Regions from separate parts of the Homo sapiens genome. Here region 1 is linked to region 2. Evidence: promoter capture Hi-C in 16 types of primary human blood cells and fetal thymus (Javierre and others, 2016). All regions are on one chromosome and are shown on one strand. Each heading gives the region's core, a stretch centred on a gene start or on the middle of the fragment in contact. The rest is flanking DNA. Distances are from core to core; before and after follow the strand shown.

Region 1 (3,731 bases), core at 631-3,130, 390 kb after region 2:
CAAGTTAAACAAATTTATAAGAAAAAAAATCATCAAAAAGTGGGCAAAGGATATGAACAGACACTTCTCAAAAAGACATTTATGTGGCCAAGAAACATATGAAAAAAGCGCAACATCACTGATCTTTAGAGAAATGCAAATCAAAACCACAGTGGAATATCATCTCATGCCAGCCAGAATGGCGATTATTAAAAAGTCAAGAAACGATAGATGCTGGTGAGGCTGTGGAGAAATAGGAACACTTTTACACTGTTAGTGGGACTCTAAATTAGTTCAACCATTGTGGAAGACAGTGTGGCAGTTCCTCAAGGATCTAGAACCAGAAATACCATGTGAGCAATCCCATTACTAGGTATATACCCAAAGGAATATAAATCATTCTACTATAAAGACACATGGACACATATGTTGAATGCAGCACTATTTACAATAGCGAAGACATGGAACCAACTCAAATGCCCATCAGTGACAGACTGGATAAAGAAAATGTGGTACATACACACCATGGAATACTATGCAACCAAAAAAGGAATGAGATCATGTCCTTTACAGGGACATGGATGAAACTGGAAGTCATCATCCTCAGCAAACTAACATAGGAACAGAGGACCAAACACCACATGTTCTCACCCATAAGTGAGAGTTGAACAATGAGAACACGTGGACACAGAGAGGGGAACAACACACACCAGGACTTGTTGCGGGGGGTGGGAGGCAAGGGGGAGGGGAAGCATTAGGACAAATAGCTAATGCATATGTGGCTTAAAACCTAGATGATGTGTTGATAGGTACAGCAAACTACCATGGCACATGTATACTTATGTAAGAAACTTTCACATTCTGCACACATATCCCAGAACTTGAAATAAAACAAACAAACAAAAAGAAAGCCATGGTCTCTATCTCTGCTGGTCTGGCAGAAGACACAGACATTATATAAGCAGATCCAAAAAGTGTTACAGGAGCCGGCTATGGGGGCACTAACCTGGTTCAGGGGCTTAAGGAAGGTTTTCTGGAAGAAGCAACATTTAATCCAAGATGTGGAAGAAAAGTAGAAGATGATGATGTTCATAATGGTAATAAGATGTAATGTTTATTAAAAAGCTTACCATGTACCAGGTACTTTTCTAAATATCTTAATTGACTCATTTAATCTGCACATAATGTAATAAGGTAGATCCTATTAATATCTCTGTTTTAGTAAAAGAGAGCTAAAATATAGAGAGGTCAAGCAGTTTACCCAAAGTCACATAGTAAGTGGAGGAGCACCTGGGCTTTGAACTGAAGTCTGTCTCCTCAATTTCCTCTCTTAGCCACTATGCTAAACGGCATTGATAAATTAGAGATGGGCAGGTGAGGGGTGTTGGAGGACAGGGGACTATTTCAAGCAGTGAGAACACCTTGGGTGAAGACCTTGAGGAAACTGAGACCATTTCAGGAAGTTTTTCTAAAAGAAGGTTGAGAGAGCTGGGGCTGAGAATCCTGAGAGGAGAGAGGCAATAGATAAGACTAGAGAAATGTAGGCAGGGGGCCAGATCCCACAGGCCCTTGAGTCTACAGTAAGAGTTTGTTTATCCTAAGGACAGTGGGAAGTCGTTGAAAGATTTTAAGCAGTAGAGTGTCATGATCAAGTTTGTACTTAGGACAGTTTACTCTGGCATTTTGGAGAATGGATGTGGAGGTAGCAACTCAGGAGGTTGGGAGACCAGCAGGAGACTGGTGATGGTAAACCAGGCATTGGGTGGTGGTGGCTTGGATTAAGGAAACTGAGACAGGGACTGGGAGAGGGAGTCAGACAAGAAAGAGATAGGAGGTAAAGTTATGGGCCCTTGTCATAAACTTATGATTGTGGGGCTGAGGGAGACAGCAGAGTCCAAAAGGACTGTGAGGGGTCTGAGCTCTGGGCACTGACATAAAACACTAAGAGAGATCAGGCTTTGGGAAGAAAATAATGAGGTTGATTTCTGACAGGTTCTATGTGGATATCAGGCAGTCTTACTGTAGATTCGCACCAAGCTGAGCCTAAGTCCTTTGGTCTAGCCATCATTTAAGTTGTTCTAAATTAGATGCTATATTTTATAGTCTACAGAAAAGTGTGGTGCCTCAGCAATGTAATAGTTTAGGAAAAGGAAAATGTTATTTTTTAATAAGTTGAGTGTATTCCATGTAGCACATTGTGCTATAGTTGGGTCAATCCGTTTGCTATTTTCTCTTTGGGCAGAAAGTATAGTGGAAAGAACGGGTACAGGATTATCACAGGACCTGAGTTCATATCTCATCTTCCCACCTTTGGCACTTATTAGTGTGGAATCTTTGATCAGCTATTCTGTTTTTTTCCATCTATCAAATGTGTTCAAAAATCCCCACTTTGTCTAAGATATTAAGAGTCTTTGGAAGCGTGGTAGAAAGTACAAAGCATTATGCACATACAAGGCACTGGGCCTTTTCCCCTCTTCACCTTTCAATTAGAAACCTAGAAATAGAATTGCCGTATGAGTTGATCAGCTTGTGTGAGGTTCACATTGCTTCAAGATTTATTTTGGGGTCTGTTGCAACTTTGTTGTGATCAACACCTGAGTCTCTTGATGTGATTATCTAATATATATCAATTTTAGAACATACCTAAAACAGATTTTTTAAAGCAATTTTTGTTAATGTAAGCTTGTTTCTAAATTAAAAGTTAAACTAATGTAACCACTAATTGTATTTTAAAGAGATGCCTTAAGCTTCAACTTTATTTTTAACATATACAAAAGGTATGTATGGTTAGTTACTACAGTGGATTAAAGATATAGTTAAATTATTGCTAGTGAAGTATCATTTCAACTATGGTATAATTGGAAGACTTTCATAGCTTGACATAACTGTTTAAAGTCTCATTATTTTATTATAAGCATTATTATAAGAGATTATTATAAGTTCCTGTCATTTCTCACTCAATACCCCACTGTTCCCATCTCATGCTAAAAGATATTTAGAGTTCTTTTTCTTTAGCTTAAGGCTTTTTATTATTCTCTTTTTTCATTTTTTCCTCTGGGGAAGTGAGAAAGGAATGTTCTCATTTTTATTTAAGCTAGATTCTGATGAATTATGATGTTAATGAGATAATAGTACCTTTTAGATATCTGTAGCAAAAGTATCATCTTTGAAATGAGGAAATATTTTCCAGAATATACTTTGAATCAATTTTTAAAAAATACTAAGGAGTATATATCCAAATCTTCTAGTAATTTTAGCTCCAAAATATGTATATTTGAAAATTGTGAATTACTTTTTGTTTTTTTCAAATTGTTTGTTAATGTTACTGCAAATGGAGACATTTATTTTTCTCTTCTCTTGTGTTCCTATTTTAGTTTGGGTTCTCCCAAAATCAGATGTTGAGACACATTCAAGTTCAGTTTATTTGAAAGGTGATCCCAAGAAACACCAGTAGGGAGGAGATAGAGAAGGGAATTCAGCCAATTTGGCCAGAAATCTAATAATCCGATCAAAAAATGGGCAGAAGATTTGAATAGACATTTCTCAGGACATACAAATGACAAACAGGCATATGAAAAAGGTGCTCAACATCACTGATCATCAGAGAAATGCAAGTCAAAACCACAGTGAGATATCATCTTACCCAGTTATGGCTTATATCTACAGGACATTATCAAGCACTGTGGCCCACTGGAGCTTTAGCCCACACAATAACTCTGGAGCTAGAGCAGAACTCAAGTTTCAGGGTTATC
Region 2 (3,644 bases), core at 779-3,278:
CTGGCCTGCAATTTTTTTTAACATTGAATTTTACACTTGATTTCTTATTTTCAGACAGGGGTCGTGCTGTGTTGCCCAGGCTGGACTTGAACTCCTGGGCCCAAGTGGTTCTCCCCGCTTAGCTTCCCAAATAGCTGGGACTGTTGGCTATCACGCTCAGCTCTAATCCTTTTTAGGATGTGAGATTTATCCTCAATCTAACTGAGAAGTACAAGAGCCGGGGAGTTCTTTTGTAATCATTTCCCGTGTATGTTCTGTACAAGTGGATGTGGCTTTGAAATTTACAGTCTATTATAGTTTGATATTTCAATCCTGAAATGTTAACATCCTTTAACATCCTTTTACACATACACACATAACTTTGTTTTGTATGCTTTGTATGTTTTACATAATGGGATCATCTTATACCTGCCTTTTAACTTTTCTTTTTCTTTTTCTTTTTCTTTTTCTTTTAATTTTTTTGAGATAGAGTTTTGCTCTGTGGCCCAGGCTGGATTGCAGTGGCATGATCTGGGCTCACTGCAACCTCTGCCTCCTATGTGCATATAATTCTTCTGCCTCAGCCTCTCATGCAGCTGGGACTACAGGTGCATGCCACCACGCCTGGCTAATTTTTGTATTTTTAGTAGAGACAGGGTTTCACCATGTTGACCAGGCTGATCTTGAACTCCTGACCTCAAGTGATCCACCCAACTCAGCCTTCCAAAGTGCTGAGATTACAGGCGTTAGCCACCGCACACGGCTATATATATATATAATATTATTATATAAATATAATTATCTTAATATATAAATATATATTATTATCTTAATATATATAATATATATTATTATCTTAATATATATAATATATTATTATCTTAATATATATTATTATCTTAATATATAATTATATAATAATATACAATATATAATATATATTATATATATAATTGTATATATAATATAATATATAATATATATTATAATATTAATATCATAATATTATATATGATATATAAATATAATAATATATTAATATATATTAAGATAATAATATTAATATATTAATTATATAATTAATATATTATATATAATATAAGATAATTATAATATATAATTGATAATATTGATATATTAATTAATATTATATCTCAATATATAGATATATTATAATTATATTATATAATTAATGTATTAATTAATATTATTATCTTAATATATATTAATATAATATTATTATATTTATATTATATATTATATATTTATATATTAATATAATATTATTATATTTATATTATATATTATATATTTATATATTAATATATAATGTTATATATTATATAATATATAATATTATATATTAATATATAATATTATATATTATATAATATATAAAATTATTATATATTAATATATAATGTTATATATTATATAATATATAAAATATTATATATTATATCATATTATATATATAATTTCATTTAAACTTGTATCTTAGAAATTCTTATCAGTAAGCGTACGTGATTTCATTTATTTATTATTCTTTTGGATACTGGACATAATCAGGTGGCCCCAATTCTTTACACTGGCAGCAAAGATAAGCAAATTCTTCCAGCAGGCCAAATTTGACCCCGCACTTGATGAGCGTGGTGGACACAGAGGGTTTTTTAATAGCATAGGAATGTTTTTTGCTTCCCACCGGACCCACTAGCCTCTAGTGCCACCGATTAATATTACCTTCCTTGAATCAGGAGGAAACCATTTGTGACTTCTCATATGTAAGATCTTCTAAGGGCAGAAACGCAATTGTCTTTGTATTCACTTCCCCGCCCACCCACACCCCTTCCATGGAGAGCCTGCAGCCAAGCTCAAGCTTTCAAAAAGGCGTGAGCTAATTCAATCATCCTTGCCGCTTTTTTGCTCCTCCAGGCTGTAGAGGGCGACAAAAACCGCGGAGGCGCATTGGGGTGGGGGGTGTCTACTGAAGGCCGCTCCCGACGTGCGCGTCTTTACGTAGACGTCGGGGGCGCAGCCGCGCTGTGCGCGGTGACTGGCGGCTGCACTGGCGGCAGCTGGAGGTGTAATAGTGCGGGTAGTGGGTTTGGAGAAGTTCCGAGGCGGCGGTGGCGCCGGTCAGGACAAGGATAGCGGAACCGGGCCCTGGGCTTGTCGCTCACCATGCCGACAGTAGAGGAGCTTTACCGCAATTATGGCATCCTGGCCGATGCCACGGAGCAAGTGGGCCAGGTGAGTTGAGTCCCCGGGCGGCCTGCAGGGCCTGGCGCTCCGCGGCCTTTCGAAAGCGCTTCCCGCCGCACTCCCCGGGCCGAGCGGGGGCTGCGGCTTCATCCTCCCGGGGCCTCCTAGCCTCCTCAGGCCGTCTCGTCGGGGTGGGCCTCTCTGGGAGTGTAGACTCTGGTTTCACCAGGGAGACCGCGGTCCCCAGGGTTCCAGGCTTCCTTGCCTCCCTTGCCCAGCCTTTTCTCACCGTGGCGTAACCTAACTCAGCCCGTTCAGGCTCACGTTAATTCTTCTCACGGAGCTTTTCTCTACAGGATTCTCTTAAGCCTTTCTCCTTTTCGGTGGAGCTCAGTGCTTCCAAGATTAGATCGGGAGTTTTCTTCATGAGGTCAAGATGTGTTTTTTTTGGGGGGGAGGCAAAATTCTGCTACTAATTGAAGAAGAGTGTTTAGGAGACAGAAGTTTGTGAGAAACAGAAGAGGGACTCTTTGGTCCAGACTTTGATGAGAGCTCACGGTTTCATTTATTCAGTGCATTTTTTTGAGTGCCGAGCGCTGGAGATACAGATGGAAAGGTCCGCGCTCTCCCAGAATGTACAGTTAGGAGGGAGTGTAGTAAGAAAGATAGGCATTGTGAGGCCCGGCTTGGTGGCTCACGCCTGTAATCCGAGCACTTTGGGAGGCCGAGGCGGGCGGATCACGAGGTCAGGAGTTCGAGACCAGCCTGACCCACATGGTGAAACCCTGTCTCTACTAAAAATACAAAAATTAGCCGGGCGTGGTGACACGCGCTTGTAATCCTAGCTACTCAGGAGGCTGAGGTGGGAGGATTGCTTGAACCCGGGAGGCAGAGGTTGCGGTGAGCCGAGATCGCTTCACTGCACTCCAGCCTGGGAGACAAAGCAAGACCCCGTCTCAAAAAAAAAAAAAAAGGTTTTTTTTAAAAATTTATTCTTTTTAATGAAACATGTTTGAAGAAAATAAAACAGGGCTGGGCGAAGGAGAGTGTGAGTGCGCAGCTCTGAATGGAGTTGTCTGGAAGAGCTCTCTTAACGATGCTTGCCCCCGATACACAGTTTCTCAGCAGTGTTGAATTATCCATACAAGTCATTTGTTCCCTGTATGAGTTTTCAAGTACTGGAGTACATTGAACTTGATAAGTGGTTGGGTATGTGTGTTCTTGGGAAAAGAACCAGGCTCTCCTGGAGGTAACCTTGATCATTGTTTTAGAAATCCCACACCATAGCTTTTCAGCGCTTAGAACTTTGTGATTTTTCTGCTTACGCATCCCTTCTTGGAGAAAGTGGAAGATTCTAGTCTATTAACAGTCGTGGGAGTACCTTTCCCGTCCCCTTTTCTTAACATAATTCAAATAGGACTTTTCTGAGCTGAACGAAAAAAAAAAAATTTCATGTTGGAGAT

What was found. The method cuts DNA at HindIII sites, captures the fragments that hold promoters and counts their contacts. A CHiCAGO score of 5 or more calls a contact.
Region 1: a contact is called between a fragment that was not itself captured here and the fragment with the promoter of API5 in region 2, in 1 of 17 cell types (naive B cells). The highest score is 5.3, in naive B cells.

What each region holds. Positions count from the first base shown.
Region 1 is chr11:43,696,310-43,700,040 of GRCh38, forward strand. The region is part of intron 1 of HSD17B12 (hydroxysteroid 17-beta dehydrogenase 12); the gene reads left to right. Among named protein-coding and RNA genes, the nearest start is that of HSD17B12, 17 kb to the left of the region's middle. The HindIII fragment of the contact is 1,557 bases long and covers 1,103-2,659 here.
Region 2 is chr11:43,309,968-43,313,611 of GRCh38, forward strand. It overlaps API5 (apoptosis inhibitor 5), which reads left to right and starts at 2,029. Exons shown (of 14, transcript NM_001142930.2): 1 at 2,029-2,229. The coding sequence starts at 2,161. RefSeq lists an enhancer at 1,782-2,557. The HindIII fragment of the contact is 11,672 bases long and covers 1,854-3,644 here.